Regions from separate parts of the Homo sapiens genome. Here regions 1 and 2 are each linked to region 3. The links are contacts of gene promoters, found by promoter capture Hi-C in blood cells and fetal thymus (Javierre and others, 2016). All regions are on one chromosome and are shown on one strand. The core of a region is centred on a gene start or on the middle of the fragment in contact, and the rest is flanking DNA. Distances in the headings are between cores, read along the strand shown.

The links. The method cuts DNA at HindIII sites, captures the fragments that hold promoters and counts their contacts. A CHiCAGO score of 5 or more calls a contact.
Region 1: a fragment that was not itself captured here is called in contact with the fragment with the promoter of VWA3B in region 3 in 2 of 17 cell types (monocytes and naive B cells); the score reaches 8.0 in monocytes.
Region 2: a contact is called between a fragment that was not itself captured here and the fragment with the promoter of VWA3B in region 3, in 4 of 17 cell types (monocytes, naive B cells, total B cells and 1 more). The highest score is 10.1, in monocytes.

Annotation. Positions count from the first base shown.
Region 1 is chr2:97,977,728-97,982,187 of GRCh38, forward strand. The region is part of intron 1 of TMEM131 (transmembrane protein 131); the gene reads right to left. Among named protein-coding and RNA genes, the nearest start is that of TMEM131, 16 kb to the right of the region's middle. The HindIII fragment of the contact is 1,602 bases long and covers 2,170-3,771 here.
Region 2 is chr2:97,997,857-98,002,139 of GRCh38, forward strand. LOC124905591 (a long non-coding RNA gene) reads left to right here. Exons shown (of 2, transcript XR_007087148.1): 1 at 1-1,038; 2 at 3,197-4,085. Among named protein-coding and RNA genes, the nearest start is that of TMEM131, 4.0 kb to the left of the region's middle. The HindIII fragment of the contact is 2,196 bases long and covers 266-2,461 here.
Region 3 is chr2:98,085,510-98,089,747 of GRCh38, forward strand. It overlaps VWA3B (von Willebrand factor A domain containing 3B), which reads left to right and starts at 1,658. Exons shown (of 28, transcript NM_144992.5): 1 at 1,658-1,854. RefSeq lists enhancers at 1,386-1,886, 1,783-1,852, 1,887-2,387. The HindIII fragment of the contact is 2,164 bases long and covers 461-2,624 here.

The DNA of each region.
Region 1 (4,460 bases), core at 1,721-4,220, 110 kb before region 3:
TGCCTCAAGGTTGATCAGGATCAGGATAATGGTTGCTGAAGGGTGGGGTGGCTGTGGCAATTTCTTGAAACAGCAATGGGCCAGGCGTGGTGGCTCATGCCTATAATCCCAGCACTTTGGGAGGCAGAGGCAGGCGGATCATGAGGTCAGGAGTTCGAGACCAACCTGGCCAACATAGTGAAACCCCCGTCTCTATTAAAAATACAAAAATTAGCCAGGTGTGGTGGGGGGCGCCTGCAATCCCAGCTACTCGGGAGGTCATGGCAGAAGAACTGCTTGAACCCGGGAGGTGGAGGTTGCAGTGAGCCGAGACTGCGCCACTGCACTCCAGCCTGGGTGACAGAGCAAGACTCGGTCTTGGGGAAAAAAATAATAATAAATAATAATAATAAAAAACAGCAATGAAGTTTGCTGCCATTTCATGAAAGATTTCTCTGTAGCATGCAATGCTGTTTGACAGCATTTTACCCACAGAAGAACTTATTTCAAAACTGGAGTCAATCTTCTCTAACCCTGCTACTACTTTATCGACTAAGTTGATAATACCCTGAATCCTTTGCTGCCATTTCAACAATGTTCACAGCATCTTCACCAGGAGCAGATTTCATCTCAAGAAATCACTTCATCTATAAGAAGCAACTCTTCATTTGTTCAAGTTTTATCGTAACACTGCAGCAATTCAGTTACATCTTCAGGATGCCAGCCACTCTGTTGCCCAGGCTGGAGTGCTTACTGCAGCCTTGACTTCCTGGGCTCTAACAATCCTCCCACCACAGCCTCCTGAGTAGCTGGGACAACAGGTGAGAGCCACCACACCTAGCTAATTTTTGTAGTTTTTGTAGAGACAGGGTTTTGCCACAGTGCTCAGGAGGTCCTTGAACTCCTGGGCTCCATATTCCTCCCGCCTAGGCCTCTGAAAGGGCTACCATACCCAGCCCAAGCTTCACTTCTAATCCTAGTTCTCTTGCTATTTCCACTGTATCTGCAGTCACTTCCTCTACTGACATCTTGAACTCCTCAAAGTCATCCATGAAGGTTGGAAGCAACTTCTTCCAAACTCTTGTTGATATTCTGACCTCCTCCTATGAATCACAAATATTCTTAATGGCATCTAGAATGGCAAATCCTTTCCAGGAGGTTTTCAATGGACTTTGCCCAGATCCAACTGAGGACTCAGTCTCTGTGGCAGCTATAGCCTTAAAAAATGTATTTTTAAAATAAGACATGAAACTTGAAATTACTTCTTGATCCTTGGCTGCAGAATGGATGCTGTGTTAGCAGGCACGAAAACAACATGCAGCTCCTTGTACATCTCCATCAGTGCTCCTGGGTGACCAGTTGCCTTTTTAACAAGCAGTAATATTTGGAAAGTAATATTTTTTCCGAGCAGTAGGTCTCAACAGTGGGCTTAAAATATTCAGTAAACCACATTATAAACAGATGTGCTGTCATTCAGGCTTTCTTGTTCCAGTTATAAAGCACAGGCAGAGTAGATTTAGCATAATTCTTAAGGTCCCTAGAATTTTTTCAGCATGACAGATGAGCATTGGCTTCAACTTAAAGTTACCAGCTTCATTAGTTCCTAACAAGAGAGTCAGCCTGTCCTTCGAAGCTTTGACGCTAGGCACTGACTTCTCCTCTCTAGCTATGAGAGACCAAGATGGCATCTTCCAAAAGAAGGCTGTTTCATCTACATGGAAAATCTGTTGTTTAGCGTGGCCACGTTTATCAATGATCTTAGCCAGATCTTCTGGAAAACTTGCTGCAACTTGTACATCGGCACTTAACCACTTCACCTTGCACTTTATGTGATGAAACTGTCTTCTTTCCTTAAGCCTCATGAACCAACCTCTCCTGGCTGCCAACTGTTCTTCTGCAGCTTCTTCCCCTCTCTCAGTCTTCATAGAACTGAAGAGAAGAGAGGGGCCTTGCTCTGGATTAAACTCTGACCTAATAGAATGCTTGTGGCTGGTCTGATCTTCTATCCTGAACACTAAAGCTTACTCCTATCAGCAATAAGGCTGTTTTGCTTTCTTATCATTCATTTGTTCACCAGAGTAGCACTTTTAACTTCCTTAAAGAACTTCTCCTTTGCATTCACAACTTGGCTGTTTGGTACGAGAGGCCTAGCTTTTGGCCTTTCTCAGCTTTGACATGCTCTCCTCGCTAAGCTTAATCATATCTAGCTTTTGATTTATAAGGGAGAGGTGTGACTCTTCCTTTCACTTGAACACTTAGATGCTATTTAGTACTACTAATTGTCCTAATTTCAATATTGTTGTCTCAGAGAAAACGACAGCCTGAGGAGGGGCGAGAAGTGGGGGAACAGCCAGTTGGAGCAGTCAGAACACAGGCATTTATCAGTTAAGCCTGCAGTGTCATATGGGTGTGGTTTGTGGGCATCCCAAAACAATTACACAATCACATCAAAGATCACTGATTGCAGATTACCATTACAGATTTAATACTGAAAAAGCCTGAAATATTGTGAGACTTACCAAAATGTGACATAAAAATAGAAGTGAGCATATGCTATTGGAAAAATGGTGCTAATAGATTTGTGTCAGGCAGGATTGCCACAAACCTTCCATTTGTAAACAGCATATTGGCTGTGAAGGAGGCAAAGTGCAATAAAATGAGAAATGCCTGTACCACTACACACCTGTTAAGATGGCTAAAATTAAAGGACTGACCATACCAAGCACTGGCAAGCATATGGAGGAAATGGAACTCTCATACACTTCTTATGGGAATATAAAATGGTACAGCCGCTTTGGAAAACAGGTTAGCAGTTTCTTAAACATACAGCTACCATAGGATCCAGACATTCCACTCATATGTACTTACCTGAGAGAAAATAAAATACATGTGCATACAAAGACTTACACATGAATGTTCAAAGCGGCTTTATTTATAACAGCCCCAAACTGCAAACAACCCAAAATTTCAACAGATGAACAAATAAATCATGGTATATTCATACAACAGAATACTACTCAACATTAGAGACTAACTATCAAGACACACAAGTTGGAAGAATCTCAAGTGTCTTGTGCTGAGTAAAATAAACCAGTCTTAAAACCATACAATCTCAAATTATACACACTAATTTCATTTATATGACATTCTCAAAAAGAGAAAATTACAGTGACACATAACAGATCAGTGGTTGACAAGAGTCAGAAGTGGACTATATGGAGATAGCACAGGTTTTGGAGGGTAATGAAAATGTTCTGTATCCTGACTATGGTAGTGGTTATTCAAATCTATACATGTGCTGAAACTCACAGAACTACACACCAAAAAAAAAAAAAAAAAAAAAAAAAAAAAAAAAAAAAAAGTTTAAAAATCTGTTAAGGTAGCTATCCACACACATACACTCTTTATAACCTTGCTGCTTTCATTTATCAATATACTTTGGAAATCACTAAAAAGCATATTCTAGAGGTTTTCCTCATTCTTTTTTAAGGTGCATAATGATCCATTATGTGGATGTAACAATTTATTCAACTATATAGGGGCATTTAGGTCATTTCCAATAGTTTTCATTCACAAATCATCATGCTATGAATAACCTTATATATATGTATTTGTATTGTTAAAACAGCCAATTCCTAAAAATGAGATTGCTAGGTGAAAACCGTAACATATATGTAATTTTGTTAGACACTGTGCCAAACTTCTTTCCATTAAGGTTGTATCTTTTTTGCATTCCAACTAACAAGGTGTGAGAACACGTGCTTTCCTGCAGTCTCATCGAAAGTGTTGTGAAGCTTTTAGAACTTTGCCACCCAAATAAGTGAGAAATGGTATCTCATTTAGGTTTTTTCCCCCTTAGATGAAAAGCCTATCAATTTTTAATAAAACTTGTTTAATAACAGCTCCCATTTTAAGTATATAATGCATAGTTTTCAGTGTATTCAGAGTTGTTCAACCACCATCCCAAAGAAAAACCCTTGTACCCATCATCAGTCACTCCCTACACTGCTCTCCATAGTTCTAGACAACCATGTTATCTATTTTGTCTCTGTGGATTTGCCTATTCTGGACATTTCATATAAATGGCTTCTATGGTCTTATATGGTCTTTTGTGAGTGGCTTTGTTCACTTATCACAATGTTTTCAAGGTTCACCTGTGTTGTAACAAGCATTCATAATAATACTTCACTCATTTCTATGGCTGAATAATATTCCATTTGATCTATTCTTCAAACATTTCAGTTGTTTCCACTTTTTGGCTACTATAAATAATGCTGCTATGAATGTTCCTGCACAAGTTTTTATGTGCAAGTTTTTGTGTTTTCGTTTCTTTGGAGTATATACTAAGGAGCATAACTGTGGGTCATACAGTAACTCCGTATTTTCAGGACCTACCAAACTGTTTTCCAAAGCAGCTGCACCATCTTATGTTACCCATAAAGCAACAAGACATTCCAATGTCTCCGCACCCTTGCCAACAT
Region 2 (4,283 bases), core at 114-2,613, 88 kb before region 3:
AGGATATGTAACTGAGCGCTTTTGCTTAGCCTCCAACGTGCTAGCTCTGCAAGTCAGCAGCCCTTCCCCCATGGCCAGATTCAGGACAAACAAGCCTTTCCAACCATGAAGTGCTGAGGTTCTCTTACACAGCAATCAGCCACATCCCCTGGTTAGCCTGAGGCTCAGCAGCTCCATGGGAAATAACTTGCACCTGTCTGTAATTGGATCTTTAGACGTATACAGACATGTTTGATCAGAGTTCGATTTCCCATGCAGCTAATGAAGCTTAAGCCGCAGGGCCCCCTCTCTTGCACAAGTTCCTTCCAAGTCCCTGAACCTAATTGTGTATTTATAAGCCTGTATTCTTGTTCTTAAAGGAGCCCTCCCAATAGTTGGGTAGGCTTTTAAGGCCCACCATACCTGAACCCTCCCCTGTGCCTGAGGGACACTAGGAGCAGGAGGGGTGATGATGGAACTTTCCTCCCAGGAAAGGACAATGAGGCCACTGAGAGTCTAACAGTGAAAGACGTTTTGCTAGACAGCATGGTAAACTGTGTGTTAGAGAGAACCTGGCGTGGAGCCACCATCACCCTATGATCCTCTACCCCCACTCCCCAACCCTCATGTGTCTCAGGAGAGAACCAGGAGTTAAAATTGAAGGAACCATCACACTAAGGACTCTCAAATAGTTCTGATTAGTTGTGAACTTTTCTCTTTTTCCCTTTTGGAAATTGGAGAGACCTGGCCATTTGGCAGGTGGAGGTATTAGCTGGCAGAGTCAGGGAAAACTCGCTAAACCAGTGGTTCTCAAGGTGTCATCCCCAGACCAGCTGTAGCAGCAACACCTGGGAACCTGTTAGAAGTGCAAATTAGCAGGCCAAATCCCAGACCTGTGGAATCAGGAATTCTGGGTTGAGGTCCAACAATCTGTTTAAACAAGGCATCCAAGTGATTCTGATACAGGCTCAAGATTGAAGACTGTTGCACAGTGATATATGCCAGGAGCTACAAGCTGTTGGGACTCCTCACTTTCTGTTCATTTTGCTCTCTATGCAGGTTAGTAATTTACCATTCAAGGCAGAATTATAAGAGACTCAGACAAATTTGAACTTAAATCCCATCCCTGCCTTTACTAGCTATATGATGCTGAGCAAATGACTTTTCTGGCCTCAGATTCCTAATCTGTAAAAATGGGGATTATGATATAAATTTGGGGAGATTAAGCATATAGGTTTGTGAAGCATATAGACTAGTGTCTGGGACATAGGAGACTGTCAAAAGTAGCTATTAGTGAGCACTCACTCTTTTCAAAACACCACATTAGGCACGAAGATCCTTGATCCATTGATACCTCCACTTCATTCCACAAAATACTTAAGGAGGTGTGCAAGAATGCCTTCTATGAATTAAAACTGGAACTAGGAGGGAGTAAACTGTTGGGCTTTCCAGGGTTCTATCTCCTTTGCTGCATAGGTGAATGCACCTGGTATCCTGCCGTTCAACACCATCTATACACTTTCAGGTCCCCACTTCATGTCACCAGCCAGACCTCGCTGTCTCTATTGCTGTTCCCACTCAGGTGTATAATGAGGTGTCTTAAACTCACATGAACTCCACATCTTCCCATGCAAACATGCTTCACCCACAGCCTTTCCTATCTCCAGGGCAACTCCAACCATCCAGTTGCACAGGCCAAAAACCTGGGAGTCATTCTTTACTCTCTCCACATGTACCCAAATCTAACTGCTTCTCACCACCTGCACTACTCCACTCTGGTATGAGCCCTGTCATCCGCTGCCTGGATTTCTGCAAGAGCTTCCTAACAGGTTTCCCTGTTTCCACCTGTAAAAGAAAATTTTCCACTTACAACACTTGCATAGTAGATATCAAAACGGAATGCTATGCTCTACCACAACTGGTTCTAACCAACTGAAGCAGATCAAGGACTGTGAACTTTGAGTGACCCCATACCAGACCCTTGTTAGACCTAACCAAAGACTCCTTTCTGACCAGTTAACAAAGGGACATGTTTTATCAACACTATTCCAACCTATCCAGAGCACTACTTTCCAGCCCTTAATCCGCATAACCTCCAAACTCCCTTCTCTCTTTCTCACACTTAAAAAACCCTGACTTTTCCTAATTCATGAGTTACTCAGTGAACTTTTTCACTGGTGTGTTTACATCCACCCCTGGCAGTATATAAACTCATCTTTGATTTTTTTTTTTTTTTTGAGTTTTGTTGGGCTTTGCTTTATATTTTGACATAAATTTGTACTTTTATAGTCTATTGTCAACCTGACAGCCAGCATGATCCATTTAAAACATAAGACATGTCACGTCTCTCAATGTTCACATCCTGCAGTGGCCTGCTTAATGTTTTTAAAAGCAGTTGGGGAAAGTGAAATTTTAATTTTTAGAGACTGTATATTAAAAAAAGCAATAACAGGGAATATTTGAATACCCATCTCAGGGTAAAAGCTTCCTTGATCTGGCTTGCCCCGGTCTTTCCATTCCTCCTGGATTCCTCCAGGCTCGGTCTGTTTCAGCTGAAATGACCACCATTTTGTTCCTGGAACATATCAGGAATGCTTCTACTCCAGGGTCTATCCTCTAGCCCTCCACCTGAAGTGCTTTCTCCCCACCCCCTTCTCCCTGGTTCTCTGCTGGGCTCACTGTCATACTTCCTCTCAGTCTTGGCTCAGTTATGATTTTCTTGGCGAAGCATACCCTGATCACCACTGTTAATACTGCAGCTTATTACACCTACCCTCAAGACCCAATCCTCCTTACCTTGCACTCATTTTCCCCCCATAACACTTATCACTTTCTATAATACTATATACTTTACTTACTCATTAAATGTATTGTTATTACCAATCTTTCCCCCCATTCGTTTTGCTCACTGATGAATTCCGAGCTTCTACAATATTGGCACATATTGGGCACTCAATAACACTTATTACATGAATGGATAGATGAATGGATGAATGAACAGAACTAAAAGATAAAGATCACGAAGACATAGTCCTTCTCCTCCAGGGAGCTTCAAATCTGGTAAATAAGAGACATATACAAAATATGGTAGAATAGGAAGAAATGAATCAAAGGAGGAAAGAGGAGGAGTATTAAATGAAGGCAACTCTGGGTTCTACTCATTTCTTTATTTACCCAGCCTTTTCAAGTTCTTTAACTGATTTTTCTTTATTTTCAGTTCTCTGTCTCTTTCATCTAGTCTGAAGCCCACAGCAGTCAAGCGAGTAAGAAGGAATATGGCATCTTGTCTGTCTTATTCAGGATGAAGAGTAACCTGCTTATTTTGTCTCCTGTGTCCCTTATTCCTTGGGAGGTTTCCCTGGGTGTTATTCTTAAAAAAAGTCAGCTCACGAAGCCTAAGGTTTAAGTCTGTTCAACTTAGTAGTAAATTATGGTAACCTAGGGTAGGGCAAATAGACCTCAGTCAAGTTCATGCAGCAGGATGAGGGTAGTAGCTTCTGAGCATGTGGGCCGAGCTCTGTATCAGTGTGGATCCCATATTTGAAGATCCTTATTCATATATTCCTCAGGAAAACTAGATTCCTTTGCAATTTCTAAATCTACATGAACTAAGATCTCATCAATGACCACTACCACAACACATACATACCTTTACTAATAAACATACTGGATTTAGATGTGAGAATTAATGATGGGTTTGTTCAATATTTTCCTTCCAAGCTGACTGACACAGTTTATAAGCTTATATTTATTTTTCTGGCATTCTTTAGAAATGTTTTTTGGGACAAACAGCCAAGTTTAACATGAATCAAAATCTTGGCCTGCCCTTTCAACTCCTCCACAATAGGCTCCAGCGCCACTCTGATTTTTTCTCTCCTGCAACATTTAATTATTAATCTTGTGACTTTTGAAAAATGTCATGTGGTTTGGTAGTCTTTCAATTAAAAGGAGGGAAATAATACCCTAGTATTTTTCTTGTTCCTTCCACCTCCCCTTACCATTGTCCTCTCTAGTACTGATGAGTACTTTAAAGTTGATTTTTAGGCTGCCCTGAGTTTCTGAATGTTCCTAAACACCATTATTAAAGAAGCCTGCCTCACCCGTCATTCAACTGTACTTAATATTGCATTGCTTGGTGGAAACTAACAGCCATGGAAAGCCATTCAGGGGAAAAAAAGGCCATTGAACAATGTATTGAGGGATGTTTGTGTTTCTCCCTCTCCCTATTATTTAATTGCTTGTAACTGTAAAATTCCCAGCAATAGTAAGTAAAGGCAAAGATCAACATATTCAAGATGCAGATA
Region 3 (4,238 bases), core at 408-2,907:
GTTTTCTTATTTCAAATAACTCAATAAAAATGAGGCAAACCATTCTGTAACTAGCTAAACTGAAGTCCATACCAACTATTTAATGCTTCAAAATAACCTTAAACTTCTACTCACTTATCATTCTACAATTTAAGTAAGTAATGTTTCACATTTTCAACAGAATGTATGCTTATAGACACATAAACACGAAAGATAGGGACAGATCATCTTGGTGACTTGCACGTATGTGGCAAGTGTCCTAGGGAAAGGAGCAGGCATGGGGTGAAGGTGGGAACAAGAGTGCCTGGCGTGACCATGTGAGGCAGGGCATTTGGCTATGTGTTGCTGTGTGCTCTGTCTCACCCCCGTGACCCAAGAATATTAGTGTGGCAGGGTGTGGACAGCAAGGATTAATGGGTCATTGGCAAACATGGGCGAGGCTGGTGTTTTACTCCCTTCTGAACAGTCTTCAGTACTATCAAGCTTTTGCTTGTTTTTTGGTGGTGTGGATGGCAGGTTTCATTTGCAGGGCCAAATATATATAAACTAATAACTGCCAGGAATGATTTGTGATATGGAATGAAATCTTTCAGTACTTTTTAAATGATAGAGGCATTAAAAGAATGCAGGAGAAATAAATTCCTGTGGATGAAGCAGACTTTTTTTGGGGGGACAGAATTACTCAGTTCTAACATTAACTATGTTTTATTAGTTCTTTGAAAAACCTGCAAATGATCTGGTCAGTTCTATAATTTTAAAATCTAAAATCGTTTACTATCCCAATACCCTAAAAACAATACTTACTGTGGGGTCTTTTATTAAGACTTTAAAGATACTTTTCATAAGCACAATTTTATTTCCTGGTGACTGGAAAAATAGGAAAATATTTAGAGCCTTTTGCTTAATTGATAAGGTAACACTGAAACAAAGGTTAAAAACAAAGCTGAATGGAGAAAATAATGCCTATAGAAATATTCATGTCAAACAGGTAAGAATATTCTTGGCAACTGCAGCCCCTGCCTCCACAATTGCAAAATTGCAGCTCCCTGTCCCTTCTGTCTGTCTCAGCTCCGCCCACGTCCAGTGGCTGAGCTACAACGAACTGCCCCACCTCTTTTAAAGCGTCTTTCTCTGAACTGTGCAAGGAAGAGAGCATCGCCTGACAGTGGTGAGGTGAAAATTAAAACTACACAGGGGTCAATGCTCTGCTGAAAAGTATGAAAAGAAGTTCGTTTGTAGCGTTTCCCGCAGTCTCCTCGCCTCTCCTCGGCCTCTGGCGCCTTCCTCCCCTGTCTGCTCGCACCCTATATTTCTACCCCAGCTCATCAGTGTATTTGTTTGTTAATTCATTCATTCTTTCATTCATATTCTCCGCTGTTGTTAATTTTCCCATTGACAGTAGGCGCAAGGGGCAACGCCACTCGCCCTGTCCCTCTAGCGTGGCCTCTGTTTGGGGGTCTGGGGTGGAGGTCGTCCCGGCCCGGGTGGTTCCGGACGCCGGCTTTCCGCACCTGGCTCGGTGACGGCCTCGGCGCCCCGCCCTCTTGGCCACGGTCCGCAGCCATCGCCCCAGTGAGGGCGCGGTCTGTGGGCGGGGCCGGCTCCAGGAGCCGCGCTGTGATTGGCCGTGTCCAGGCAACCGCGGAGACGCCGTCGTCAACAGACCGCGCTCGGAACCAGAGGCGCGGGTCACAGAGACCTAGAACAGCTGGAATCCTTCGCCCCCGGCGCGCAGCCTTCGCCCGCCGGAATCGCTGCCTTATCCACCAGCGGGATGCTTACCTCGCCCGCCCTCTCGGGTCAGGCGGGCCCGGGAGGATGGGAGGGTGGCTGCTGAGCGGGAGCCGCCACGTCTTCCACCCGACATATTGCCTAGTAAGTGTGGGAGCGATGCCTGCCGCACGAGAGCCGCCGAGGTGCCGAGCCTTCCAACAAGCGGCCTAGGGAGGTCTTGGAAAAATGCCATTTCTGAGGTGGACTACACGCCCACTTTACAGATGCGGAAACAGTACCAGGAAAGCTCGGTGACTTGCCCTGGCCCACTTAATCGTCCGCTACCCAGGGCAAGCCGAGGGTCAAGGTACCGACCCCTCCTACTCTAGAGCTCTTTCCATCACACCTCACCCGAGCCCACGCCCAGCCGCTCTGGTGGAAAAGCGGTTTTCCTAGTTTCTGTCTATGCCATAGGCCAGCAGTTCAAGGTGATGAAGTCCACCTGGGCTTTGGAGGGAACATGGGAACCAGAAGAAACACATTTCCTGAACATAAGGATAAATATGTATAGTCTAAAAGCCAAAGCAACACTTACATGGTTTCACAATCATATCAGTTTCTTTCACCCTCCTTATATGGAAATAAGACTTAATAAGTAGATTTAGTTTCCATTTGGTAGAGCTTTTCCTTTCATTTTCTTGGAAGCTCTGTTTCTTCTCAGCAATGACCTTCCTCCTAAAGCACTCCAATTATTCTCAGATATTGCCTTCTTGACTATTTTCTCAACGGTGGGACAGTCCGTTTCAATATCCTTGTCTCTGTCCACATTATTTGAGCCAATGATCACAGCCAAGCCTTGTCCCTTAAGGGCAGAAAAAATGGGAGGAGGTTTAAGGGTTTCTGGGGAAGAGTTGCATCAGGATCCATCATGAAGCTTCGTCCCAGTTTCCTTTCTTCCTGGAAAAATCATCGTTCACAAATTCACCTAAATCACAAGATATATATCCACCTAGCCCAGACTTCTTTTTCAGAAACTAACAGGGGTATAGGAAGTTTGGGGTGTTGATAATAAAGTAGCTAGAAGCTTATTGAATGTCTAAACTGGATTAATGGACTCTCAACCCTGCACTGTCCCTGAACCTCCGAGCACATAGGACCTTTTCTCTGAGGGCATGCTGACTTCACAAGACTGTCGCCCAGGGCAGCCCAGGAGCATCTGCTTCCAGTAGACGGGGCCCTTGTACAGTTGCCAGCTTAACCTTTCTATTTTCCCCAAAGCTTTGCCTGCCCACATTTTCAGCTCAGACTTTCACTTCCTTGTTTTTCCTTTTACACTTCCTCCTTCTTCTAAGGAAATACTTTCCTATCCAAACTCTATGTATGGTTCTTGGGATGGCCTCTAAAACTTAGGGCAATGCTCAACTCCGGTATGTTGTTGTTTCCGACTTCTGGGTTACTTGGTTCCCCAATTTATAATAACCTCAGCTGAGGAAACTCTGAATAATAGTAAATAAATAAATAAATAGCATAGTTTTATCAGAAAATAATATATCCCCCTTTATTTTTTTTTGAGACAGGGTCTCGCTCTGTCCCCCAGGCTGGAGTGCAGTGGTGCAATCTTGGCTTACTGCAACCTCTGCCCCCTGGGTTCAAGCAATTCTCCTGCCTCAGCCTCCCTAGTAGCTGGGATTACACGTGTGTGTTACCATGCCCGGCTAATTTTTGTATTTTTAGTAGAGACGAGGTTTCACCATGTTGGCCAGGCTGGTCTCAAGCTCCTGACCTCAGGTGATCCGCCCGCCTTGGCCTCCCAAAGTGCCAAGAGAGCACTTTGGCACTTTAAGGGGGCATTACAGGAGTGAGCCACCGTGCCCGGCCAATATATCCCTTTTTTAAAAGAGCTGTTTCCTGATATTAGCCTTATTAACACTGTGGATATTTGCCTTCTTTGAACAAAATCAGGATTCTCTTAGTAGCTCTGAGTGATCAGTTTTATTCATCTCAACTCTCACACCAAGTGCCTGCTGCGTATGAGGCCCTGTGCTGAGAATCTTCCTGTAGTTTGTCTCCGTAGTCATTGAACTGTCTTTAAGTCTAGTGAGGACAAGCCTGAAGTGCCTAAGACCTTAGTGATAAAGTATCATAGCAAAAGTTAGGGTTTTCCCAGGGAGGGGCTGCGGAAGGTTGTGAAGGGGTTTCGGGGAGGCTTAATGGCAGAGGCAGCATTTGAAATGAGACTTGCAGGCTAAGAGTCTGCATAGGAGAGCCGTCTGAGACCAACCTGGAGGTGGGAAAGCAGGCGGGCTAGTGGGGGTGGGGTGGGGAGAAGGGGGCTACGTCCCGGCTCGCAGCAGGCTTCCTTGCTCTGATAGAACAGTTCCTATCCCACTTGAGTGGAACAATTCCTTCTGTTGGGAGATGGCTTTTCTCCCTTTCCCCCTTTCCTTCCTTTTTTTTTTTCCAGACAATACAAATATTCCATTTGTATTTCAGACAATACAAATATTCCATTTGTATTTCAGACAATACAAATATTCTCAGGCTAC